Regions from separate parts of the Homo sapiens genome. Here region 2 is linked to region 1. Evidence: promoter capture Hi-C in 16 types of primary human blood cells and fetal thymus (Javierre and others, 2016). All regions are on one chromosome and are shown on one strand. The core of a region is centred on a gene start or on the middle of the fragment in contact, and the rest is flanking DNA. Distances in the headings are between cores, read along the strand shown. Region 1 holds the start of TDRD1 (tudor domain containing 1). Region 2 overlaps LOC101927692 (a long non-coding RNA gene).

Evidence for each region. The method cuts DNA at HindIII sites, captures the fragments that hold promoters and counts their contacts. A CHiCAGO score of 5 or more calls a contact.
Region 2: a contact is called between a fragment that was not itself captured here and the fragment with the promoter of TDRD1 in region 1, in 2 of 17 cell types (naive CD8 T cells and total CD8 T cells). The highest score is 7.0, in naive CD8 T cells.

Annotation. Positions count from the first base shown.
Region 1 is chr10:114,175,665-114,181,820 of GRCh38, reverse strand. It overlaps TDRD1 (tudor domain containing 1), which reads right to left and starts at 2,468. Exons shown (of 25, transcript NM_001395205.1): 1 at 2,405-2,468. The HindIII fragment of the contact is 8,256 bases long and covers 1-2,926 here.
Region 2 is chr10:114,769,804-114,775,990 of GRCh38, reverse strand. LOC101927692 (a long non-coding RNA gene) reads right to left here. Exons shown (of 3, transcript NR_120628.1): 2 at 1-49. It also overlaps a transcript of ABLIM1 not described here. Among named protein-coding and RNA genes, the nearest start is that of FHIP2A, 49 kb to the left of the region's middle. The HindIII fragment of the contact is 1,693 bases long and covers 3,972-5,664 here.

The sequences.
Region 1 (6,156 bases), core at 1,219-3,718:
AGAATGGAGTGCAGCGGCATGATCTCCGGCTCACTGCAACCTCTGCATCCTGGGTTCAAACAATTCTCCTGCCCCAGCCTCCCAAGTAGCTGGGACTACAGGCATGCCCCATCACGCCCGGCTAATTTTTGTATTTTTAGTAGAGACGGGGTTTCACCAGACTGGTCTCAAACTCCTAACCTCAGGTGATCCGCCCGCCTCAGCCTCCCGAAGCGCTGGAATTACAGGTGTGAGCCACCGCACTGGGCCGTGAATTTTTAACATTACAAAACACCAGTAAGACTTAGCATCTATTCCTACTTGGTTCATCCTGTATCAACCACTGGGAATATCTGAATCACAAGTAGGCAGGCCCTATGGCATAATACTGTGATTCCCAACCTCAGGCTTTAGACTTGATACCCAGGTAAACAAATGTGACAGATTATTGCTGCACAGGCCCTGAAGCCACATCGGCTAACCTCACCCAGTTTTAAAATAATTCCCCCTATATACAATCTACTATTTTTTCATGCTACTAGTGATAAATAGAAATATATTTAATCATTCTGGAATCCACAGTAATTAAATGTTGATTCAGCTAACATAAAAGGTTAACTAGAAGGGTCTCAACATTTCTCTACGTTAAAGAGTACCTCATTTTCTCAGAATTAGGAATCACTGATGTACTAGAAGAGTAGTGGACTGAAAGTGACTCATTTCTATAGTTCTACAGGCAAAAATGAGGGCTCAGCTTTCTGGATTTCTTTGTTCTGTACTTCACGCTTTGAACCCATTAAGTCCTGAAGCTCCCTAAGGGTAGACCCTCTCTTTTCTTTGGAATCCTATCGGTTCTCCCTGATGTTGCTGGGGGCTTCCTAAGATACACTATGAATAGTGGGGTAAGTCATTTCTTCTCCCTCTAGGATACCACAGGCTGGAGTTCTTTTAACAACAAAAGTGTATGCACAGATACTCAGCTGTCATTTTTTTCCTTCTCTGATGTTTGCTTTTGTCTTCCTGGCAACCCCATGTATTCTGCAAGAACCATTCTACTCAAAGAAAACACTCCGGTTTTGGCTGGGCGCTGTGGCTCACGCCTGTAATCCCAGCACTTTGGAGGCCGAGGTGGGCGGATCACCTGAGGTGAGGAGTTGGAGACCAGCCTGGCCAACATGGTGAAACCCTGTCTCTACTAAAAATACAAAAATTAGCAGGGCGCCGGTGGCTGGCCTGTAATCCCAGCTACTAGGAAGGCTGAGGCTGGAGAATCGCTTGAACCCGGGAGGCGGAGGTTGCAGTGAGCTGGGATCGCGCCATTGCACTCCAGCCTGGGCAACAAGAGTGAAACTCTTACTCAAAGAACAAACAAAAACACTCCGGTTTTAAACAGACAAAACGCAACGCTTCGGTAAAGCATGAGCTCTTAAGTCAGCCAGGTAAGTCTCGTCTTCCTCATTTAGCCACGCTATCTTGGGCAAATCACTTCATCTTTCTAGGATTCAGCGACTGTAAAATGCAGAGGGCAGTAGTTAACTTCCTCACAAATCCTAATCACGAGAATTAAATGAGAGACGAAGTAAATCACTTAGCACAGTGGCTAGTACTTCCTAAGGGCTTAAAGGGCAGCTATTATTTCTGCTTTACTTTTATACCACTCCTACAAGCACAAAATTTCTTCCATTCCTGTGGAACCAGCTTGCAGGCTTAAGATGAAAATAATTTGAGGACTAAAGTATTTTTATTTCGTTATTCCTACAGATAAACAAGGGAGACGTGGGAAGTTGGAATAACTTACCAAACCACCCAGGGCCAGCACCTTACACAGTTTAGATAAAAACGCAGGTCAGACTCCACGGCCTTGGATTTAAGCATACAGCACCGTGCTGCCTCACTAAGGAAGCTGGAAGCATTTAGCTCCCTTAGTTCAGAAGCCCAGCAGGGCTAACGTATTTATAGCAAGGACCCTAGGGCCCGGAAAAGCTACTGGCACACAGCAGGAACTCCTTAAACAAACTAGCGCCAGCTGACCCACATCTAAGTAAATGCCCTAGCACATCTTCCTTTCCTATAGGAGGAAAGTAGGGAAAAAAAAGTCTAGTAAATGTTAATATTGTTTGTATCGTAATTTTTAGTCAAACGAAGGCACTGAATCCACATGCAAGTTTCTCTTAGAGAGAAGGTGAACGTTTGCATTTGAAGGAGTGATGCCTGGAAGCGCTATTTCCAAACTCAGAGAATCCTCCCACACCAAACCCTCGCAGCAAGGTTCCAAGTCTCCTCTCTCCACTTCCAGGCCCCTTGTACCCGCTCAACGCCCAACCTCAACGTCCAGCGCCCAACGTCTGGCCCCCAACGACCGAAGCCCCCTCCCTTCCCCTTCATGCAGGCCCTCTCCCTCCCCTATACGCCTGGGAACCCTGACCTGGAAAGAGGCAAGAGGACCGCGGATCCGAACCTGTCTCTGCGGTCTGGCGGTGATGGCGACTGCCGATGCTGGGAGCCCTGCCGCCTGGGATGCGCCCTGCACTTCCCTCGCCTCCAATCCCCAGTGCGCCCTCCTGGCCTCAGCGCACGCCTGCGCACTCCGCGTCCACGTGCAACTCAATGTGCCCACGTGTTCCCTCCGCCTTCCCCGGAAGCAGCTTGTGCTCTAGTTACAGGCTCAAAAAGTTCCTTTGCAGAAACTTTTATTTTGTTCTAGCTTCTTCTAGAAAGATGTCTCTGGCAACGCCTTTGGCAAATTTGGGCGCAAAGATGCAGACTTTGTCTCCTCGAAGGTCACTTGGGTCACCGTGGCCACTTAAAGGTCTTCCAAGGTTTTCCAAATAATCAACAGCCTCTGCCTGGTCTTGGAAAGTAAACACACACGTGCTCATACTTTTTTTCTTTGCTTCCTGACTGAGGGCATGTGATTATACCTGTTGGTGTTACTTAAAGACAAGCTTTTTAAGTTTTGTTTTTTTTTTTTTTTGCTATGGAACTTTTCTAACAATTTCATAAGGGAACCCTTGTGTGCCTATCATCTAGTTTCTACCTTATCAATTCATGGTTAATCTTGTCTACATCTGCAGCCCAGGCACTCTTCGGGCAATGTTTTGAAGCAAATCCGAGAATTGTAAATGTGAGACAAAGTAGCGAACGTCTGCTTCTGGCCCCCAGCATAGTCCTCCCTCACTGTGAAAAAGCCACGTTTGTTCACTGTGTTTGTCAGCATTTCAGACCCCTTGACTTAGTAACATCTCAGCCCTCCAGAAGAATGCCTTGAAGACTGCGGAGAGAACTCAGGTTCCCACCTCTCAGAGTCACTGCATTTTTAGAAAAGATACTTTCAGAGATCTAGGCCTTGCCTTTTTCTGTACCTAACGGACAAGATTAATGATGATGCCTAGACTTACTCTCGCACCCAAACTTTGAAAATATTTTGATCTTATATAGCTTCTGGGCACTTTTAATGTAACCCCTGGGCAGAACCTCTACCACCTAATATTTAAAGTGTGCTGACCCACTGCTTTGGAGTAGTTTAACAGAAATTCTCTGGGCTCTCCCTGGTTGCAGTCCTCAGTAAGACTCTGAATAAAACTAACTTCACTAACTTCAATTCTTTAAAAGCCTGATTTTTTTTCTTTAGTTGATGTGTCTTTTAAATTTATTTTTTAGAGCAGTTTCAGATTTACAGAATAGTGAAATGAAAGTGCTGACTGGGCGTGGGGGCTCATGCCTGTAATCCCAGCACTTTGGGAGGCCGAGGCAGGCAGATCACTTGAGGTCTGGAGTTCGAGACCAGCCTGGCCAACATGGTGAAACCCCGTCTCTACTTAAAATAAAAAAATAAAAAAAAATTAGCTGGGTGTGGTGGCAGGCGCCTGTAATCCCAGCTACTTGGGAAACTAAGGCAGGAGAATCGCCTGCACCCAGGAGGCGGAGGTTTCACCGAGCCAAGATCACTGCCACTGCACTCCAGCCTGGGCAACAGAGCAAGACTGTCTCAAAAAAAAAAAAAAAAAGAAAAAGAAAGAAAGAAAAGAAGGTGCTGTACAGAGTTCTGACAGAAGCCACATCGTTTCCCCTATTATTAGCATGGTCTGTTAGCATGATACATTTGTTATAATTAAGGAACCAAGGAACCAACATTGATACAGTATTAACTAAAGCCCATCTTTTTGATTTCCTTCGTTTTTACCTACTGTCCCTTTTCTGATGCAAGATCTCATCAGGATATCATATTACATTTAGTTTTCATGGATCCTTAGGCTCTTCTTGGCCATGGGACTTCCTTAGACTTTGTTTTGATGACCTTGATGTCAAGTTTCCAGGAGTACTCTCAGGCCTTTTGTAGGATGCCCTACTTTTGGAATTTGTCTGATGTTTTTCTGCTGGTAGGAAAGGAGTTACGGGTTATTGGAAGGAAGACCACAGAGGTAAAAATGCCATTTTTATTGCATCATATCAAGCATACATCCTATGAATATGATTATGACAATTGATGTAGGATTTGGTCATCTGGCTGTGGTAGTGTTTGTTGGGTCTTTCTACTATATTCTTTTTTTTCCCTTCCCTTTTCATACTATACACTTTGGAAGGAAGCTATTATTTGAAGCCCACATTTAAGGAGTAGGGAGTTATGTTGTCCCTCTTTGAGGATGCAGTATCTGCAGAAATTATTTGAAATTCTTCTGCATGGGAGATTTGTCTCTTCTCCATTTACTAATTTAATAACGGACTCGGATATTTATTTTATACTTTTTTTTTCTTATTTTATACTTTTCTAATCCAAAACTACTGTATTTCCTTGCTCAGATTTTTCCAGCTTTGGCCACAGGAAGCTCTTTCAGTTGGTTTCTGTTCCTTCACATACTATCATCAGGTGGTATTTTGTTTGTTAAGCACTTTATTACTTTCTGGGATATTGTATCTTTTCATCCAAAAATATTGTAAGTAGGTGTCTTTAAGAGATTACCACTTTTTAAGTAATATCACCAAAACATATCCCAACTTTAAAAACAATAATTTCTCTTGCTTTCCTTTCTTTTCTCCTTTTTCTCCTTTCCTCTCCTTTCCTTTCTTTCTGAAAGGGTCTTGCTCTGCCGCCCAGACTAGAGTGCAGTGGCACAGTCATAGTTCACTGCAGTCCTGAACTGCTGGACTCAAGCCATCACCCTGCCTCAGTAGCTGGGATTACAAGTGTGAGCCATAGTGCCTGGCCATAATTTCTTAATATCATAAAATTAATACTAAACATTTCCAGATACCTCAAATGTTATTTTTTAATTTTCTTTTTAGAGATGGGATCCCACTGTGTTGTCCAGGCTGGTCTCAAACTCCTGAGCTCAAGCAGCCCACCTTGGCCTCCCAAAGGGCTGGGATTACAGGTGTGAGCCACCACACCCAGCCATTCAGATGTTATCTTAAATCGTTGATATGTTCAAATCAGTATCAAAACATCCTGTATTTGCACTCAGTGATATATTTTAAAAAGGGGTTTCTCTTTAAATCCTGTACTTCTCTTGCAATTTATTTATTACAGTAACTGCAGGGTTTTTTTTTTTTTCCATTCAATTTTGTTGATTGCATCCCCCGGCAGGAATACTTCACAGGTGGTGTTGTGCTTCTCTATTGTAGCATTTCAGAAAATACATAGTATGTAGTTGTTTCACTTTGGAGGATATTAAGATTGATCTAGTAGGTTCAAGTGGTGCCAGCCCCATCCATCCATTACAATACGAAGCTTCCTATCAGTTTTTCATCTAATGGTTCTAGATTCACAGATGACCATTACCTAGATCCATTATTTCATCAGGGTTTGCAAAATGGTGATCATCTATCTTTCTTTCTGCAATTATTACATGGAGTTCTACAGAGAAGAGCTTCCCCACATTGACTATTTGATTGACATTCAGTTTGCAACAGGAAAGGTAGGATGAATGCTTGATTCTTTATCAGTTCTCAGATTGTAATGACTTGTTGGCATCTTTCCAAGAGGGTCAATGACATTAAAAAAAATAAATGCACTCACTGATTTTTTTACATAGTGCGTCTCAACCAGTTGCTGTTATTATTTTTGAATGCTAAATTTGTCCTGTTTGAGAAGTTGGGGCATCTTTGAACTGCCTTCTGAGTCTTTTGGGTACAGTTCATGTTATCTTTGCTTTTCTTCCTTGCTTTCTGCTACAAGCA
Region 2 (6,187 bases), core at 3,569-6,068, 590 kb before region 1:
GCTTTATACTCCTTTAAAGTGACCTTTAGTTTTATTCACTGGCTTTAATCTGCAATCAAATCAAAATGTTAATGTAATCCCATCAGGAGTTTGGCATTCCATTGACTATTAGCAACAGCCCTCTGCCTATATATTAGGAACATAATTTGTATTAGATGCTTCTTTTCTGATTTTTTTGGGTAAAATAGTGTTGATGTCCTAGTGGTTAGAAAAATGTTTCATGCCTTACAAATGTTAGATTTGGAGTTCAGTCACAAATGATATATCCTGCTTGTCACTTAAGAATTTAAATGAAGCAGTTCAATAATATAAGAATCAGTGCCATCACTAGGTTGTAGGTTCCATTCACTATGATTTGATGTATCTAAATGACTGAGAAGGCTTGTAAAACGTGTGTCTTCAATAATCCCATAGATTCATCTGCAGAACACTGAGAACTTACTGTGGCTAATGTGCTCTTCCTGGTCTATCTATGGTATTCAGAATGATAATCCAGTCATTTTCTAAAATATGCCTCACCTCTCTCTTGGAACTAAAGAGACACCATCCAGCAACAGAGGAATAATCCTTGATGATTAGGATAAACCAGTTGCATCTCCTGATCCCTCAAATATTCCATTGAACTCCCACATATCTAATTCTCAAACTGCTCAAATACCCTATTGATATGGTTTGGTTCTGTGTCCCCACCCAAATCTCATCTCGAATTGTAATCCCCACGTGTGGAGGGAGGGACCTGTAATCCCCACATTTTGAGGGAGGGAGGTGATTGGATCATGGGGGCGGTTTCCCCATGCTGTTCATGTGATAGTGAGTTCTCATGAGATCTGATGGTTTTATAAGTGTCTGGCATTTCCCCTGCTTGCATTTTTCCCTCTCCTGCCACCATGTGAAGAGGGTCTTTGCTTCCTCTTCACCTTCCTCCATGATTGTAAGTCTCCTGAGGCCTCCCCAGTCATCCAAAATGTGAGTCAATTAAACCTGTTTCCTTTATAAACTACCCAGACTCAGGTAGTATCGTTATAGCAGTGTGAGAACGGACAATACACCTGTGTTTTTTGTTTTGTTTCAGGAAACTAGTTCCTGGCATGGGCATCTTTGGACATCTAGTACTTTTTTTCCCCTGGCTTCTGCTAGGGACTAGAATTCATTCTTATCTCCGCCTTGGTTCCCTTGTACTGATTTCCTTTATGACAGAGCCTACATCTAAAATATTTAACATCTCTGCTCTGCTCTACCAAATGCTGCCCCTAGCCCTCATGTCTAGGTTAGAGGTCCTTCCAAGTTTCACATTCTGCCCTGGCTTTGGACTAGATTACTTATTACTCTGTTTAACTCTGTCTCTTGTTTTTCAGTCCAACTTTTTTCTCAGTTGTAGGAGCCCTACCAATGGGCAGCTTTCAAATATTTGTTCATTTTACCTATCCTCGTGGAACTTCACCCGGTATATGTGCAGCTTAGGAATCAGTAAGGTCTCAAGAACACTCTTCTGTAGATTCCTGTAGCTCTTTCTCCACATAGTTTCCTCTGGGCACTTATCCCACAACTTCCATCCACCATGGCCTCTCGGGACCATGCTTGTTTTCTCCTAAACTCAGTGAGACCACTGAGCTCTGTCTGGGTTTCTCCTCCCTCCACCTGTAGCCTGGGAGTTTCCTCTAGTCAGAAGCCATGGCATTCATAGGACTCACTTTATTTGCTTCTGTTTTCTCAAGAACCACTGTCCTGGGCTGCCTGTTGTCCAATAACTAAAAATAGTTGTTTCATGTATTTTTTTCAGTTTTGTTGTTTGATTTGGGAAGACAAGTCTAATTATTACTTCATCATGGCCAAAAGCAGAATTCCAGTTTATAATCTCATTTAAATCTCTCTTCTAACTGTAGTTAAGGGTGTCTTTCTAATACTCTTTATTTATTCTTTCTTTTTTTTCTTAGTTTCACTAAAGGTCATTCATTTTGTTAATTCTTTTCAAAGAACCACATTTTATCCTAGTTCTTCATTTCAAATGTATTGATATTTAGTTGGATTTATTTCTATGTAAACAAATTTCTTTTTTCCTCATTCTTGCTTCTATCTCATACTTTTTAATGGTGGTCATTTTACTCTACATAAATATATTTATATATTTACATATATATTTATATATAAATGATACAGAAATTTTATTAGTGGTACACTCAATATCTGTCTTAAAATATCTATCTTGCCCTCATTTTTGAAAGATATTTTTGCTGTTCATGCAATTTTTTTGTTTTGTTTGTTTGTTTTTGAGACGGAGTCTCTCTCTGTAGCCCAGGCTGGAGTGCAGTGGCGCAATCTCAGCTCACTGCATCCTCCGCCTTCTGAGTTCAAGCTATTCTCCTGCCTCAGCCTCCTGAGTAGCTGGGATTACAGGCATGCACCACCATGTCCAGCTAATTTTTAAATTTTTAGTAGAGACAGGGTTTCACCGTGTTGGCTGGGCTGGTTTTGAACTCCTGACCTCAAGTGATCCACCCACCTTGGCCTCCCAAAGTGCTGAGATTACAGACATGAGCCACCGCGCCTGGCCTATTCGTGAAATTTTAAATGAACAATTATAGGCTAATCAGAATTCTGTTGTCTCATGGCTTTTATCCTTTCCCTTGAGTCTGTTATCAATCTGTTTTGTTCCTAGGCTATGTCCTTTCTCTTTGACTGCTTTTTAGATCTTATCTTTGTTTTTAGTGTTGTTCAGTTTCAATATCAGTGTGTCTAGGTCTAGATTTCTTTTTATTCATCCAACCTGGTATATATTGTATTTCCTTTATTGATATATGTATTTTATAATATTCTTAGTTGTTTTTCCTTCAAATGTAGTCTTTTCTCCATTTTAAAATTGTTTCTTAGGACTCCTATTATTTATAAATTAGATCTTCTTATCCTATTGTCAATATATCTTAACCTCTATTTTGCATTATTCATCTCCCAATATTTTGGAGCTGTATTTCTAGTGGCTTTTTAATATCTACTTTCCAATTCACTAAATCTTTGGTTCTGTTTGTCTGTTTTATCTATCCAATGAGTTTTAAAATTTCTATAGTTGATAGTTGTTATTTCTATTTGGTTCTTTTTGAAATTTACTTGGTCATTTTTGATAGTCTGGTGTTGGCTTAGTTTTGTGATGTGTATCTTTTGTTATTTTTTTGTTACTTTATATATATTTTATCTCTTGTTTTATATGTATTATCTGGGAATTATAATACCCAAACTACTTAGTATCTATTTGTTGTTTCTGCTGACTCTCACTCAGCATGGCTTCTTTTCCTGTGTATTTTGGCATCTTTTATTATGACCTCATGTTTGCTTGATCTTTATTTGTGGAATCCTTGGGGTCTACACTGATGAAGGTTTTTGTGTTTTTTTGAGACAGGGTCTCACTCTGTCACCCAGGCTGGAGTGCAGTGATGCAATCATAGCTCACCGCAGCCTCAATCTCCTGGGCTCCAGTGATCCTCCCACCTCAGACTCCCAAATAGCTGGGACTACAGGCACAAGCCACCACACCTGGCTAATTTAAATTTTTTTTTTTTGGTAGAGTTAGGGTTTTGCCATGTTGTCCAGGCTGGTCTCAAACTCCTGGGCTCACATGATTCTTCCACCTTGGCCTCCCATAGTGCTGGGATTACAGGCATGAGCCACTGTTGGATGCTTTTACTAAAAAAGAAGTATTTAAAAAGAATTTTAGTTTGCTTCTCTCGGGAGCCAGGGATATGACTAATCTGAGGTCATTTTATCCCCCTTTAGTGGCCTGGCTTAATGAAGACTCTCAGGCTTAGCTTCTCCACCTTGTATACTGCTTTTCTAACTTGTTTGCCAGGACTTCCTCATTGCCTATTACATAGTAGGTATTATAAAGGTATTTGATTAAAAACCATTGAGTAGTTCAGTGTGCCTTTAAGCTTGAAGTTATGCAGAAAGAAGAATTATTCTCATGCTACTCATGAGAAGCTTAGGTTCAGAATGAGAAGTGATGATGAGTTGGCAGCTGAAAAGCTGTGGGAGTAAGACTCAATATTCAATTATTTAAAAAATCAATAAAGAAAAAATGTTAATAATGTACATTACCTTTCCTTCCATTAGAAATTAAAAGAGCATTTTTGGCAAGAGTCAAATAGGAACCTCTTTTTTTCAAACACAGACTGGAATGTGTTTCATCCCTTTGGTCTATATAAATTTTTCCTCTGGTTTCAACCAATAGATTGTACTTTATTTCCTGACTTTAAAAAGTGGCATTTACTATGTCTCCTAAAATTCCTTGCACTTTACAATTTGCTTTTACAATGATTTCTAAAGTATTCTCAGTTATTTCAGATGAGACATTTGTTAGGAGATTCAAGCCATTAACAAACTTGGTTGCTGTATGATTGGAAGAATTGGTTTCAGATTTCTGAGATTATAGAAAGAGATTCTGAGATGATGTGAGTGGCCCTAAAATGTCATTTCCATATATCACAACTCCAAAATGTAAGAAAATCACATATATTTTAAAATATATACTTAACCTGAAGAAGACTAAAGCTAAATACATAGGGAAACCTCTTTTTAGCTAAAGATGACCTTTGATAGCAAACTTACCATTTTGCAACCTGCCAGTCAGGCAGGCACGGAGTACTTGCTATGTGCCTAACAGTATTGGGAAAGGTGCCTTATTTGAGACTTACATCTAGGAGTGAATTTTATAATCATCTGTGTAGTCTATTACAAGCATCTTAAGGACAAGAGTAAGATCTGTTCATTATTAGGAATTTGCCACTGTATCTGTAATTCTGCTATGAGGTTATAAGAACCAGAACTATTGTGGCAGTTAGAGAAAAAGACTAGATATTACTTAAAAGAATAGGCCGGGTGCGGTGGCTCATGCCTGTAATCCCAGCACTGTGGGAAGCCGAGGCGGGCAGTTTGCCTGAGGCCTGGAGTTCGAGACCAGCCTGGCCAACATGGTAAAACCCCGTCTCTACTAAAAATACAAAAATTAGCCAGGTGTGGTGGCACGTGCCTGTGATCCCAGCTACTCAGGAGGCTGAGGCATGAGAATCACTTGAGCACGGGAGGTGGAGGTTGCAGTAAGCCAAGAGGTGTCACTGCACTCCAACCTGGGTGATAGAGCGAGACTCTGTCTCAAATAAATAAATAAATATTAAAAAGAAGGCACACAGTTCTGGGACCTCTCTATCTTACTAGTATGATATCTGATATAACATATGTTCTGTATACTTCCAGAACAAATTCAATTCGACAAGACTGGCCAAGTCCCTGATTTCAAGGAGATTTGGGGAGATAGAAAAGACTTACAACAAAACCATTAAACAGCAGCAGAAAGCAGTGTGTTAAGTAAAAACAGGTGATTCTGAAAGTAAATGCCACAGAAGTTGATTGAACGAGATCACTGTGGGTTAAGGTAGAAGGAGAACCTTTCATAAGATGTTATATGAGTTAACTTGGGTGGGGAGGAGGACACTGGGGAAGAAAAATGAGAATGAGTAAAGGCAGGGAGACAGGAAACATATTATCTTGTTGAGAAACAGAGGGAAAAATAGTCTGTCTACAGTAAAATGTTTGAGTAGGGAGTAGCTAGAGATGGCACTGGCAAGGTAGGAAAGCACAGATTATGAAGGACCTTAAAATTTCAGTGGACTCTAAGCTTTGTGTGGGCATAGATCATGTCTATCTTGTTCACCATTGTAACCCTAGTATCTACCCTAGAGACTGGTACATAATATGTGTTCAATAAAATTTTGCTGGATGAATTAATTGCTTGGATGAAGACAGTTTGAAATGTTCAGTCTGTATCTGGAGATCAGTGAGGACCCACTAATAACCTCATAGTAGAACATGAACTAGTCATGTTATAAATAGAAAAATTATTCTCAAGGTAATGGGCAAAATAAACCTGGGGGGTGGGTGGTAGGGAGGCAGTGGAGGCTGGAGGCTGAATGTAGGCAGGGCAACCAGGCTATTCCTGTGATCATGCTTTAGGTGAGAAAGGTTAAGAGTGGAATGAGGATAGTGGGAGAGGAGAGTTGTTTTGAGATTGAAGCAACTGAATTGTGATTCACTGGCAAGTTTTCTGCCTAAAAGACAGTGAAAGGGATGTTGTCAAGATGGATAAATAATGAGTTGATTTTTGTAGTTGGCATTTGAATCTGAGAATTTCTATTCCCATTAC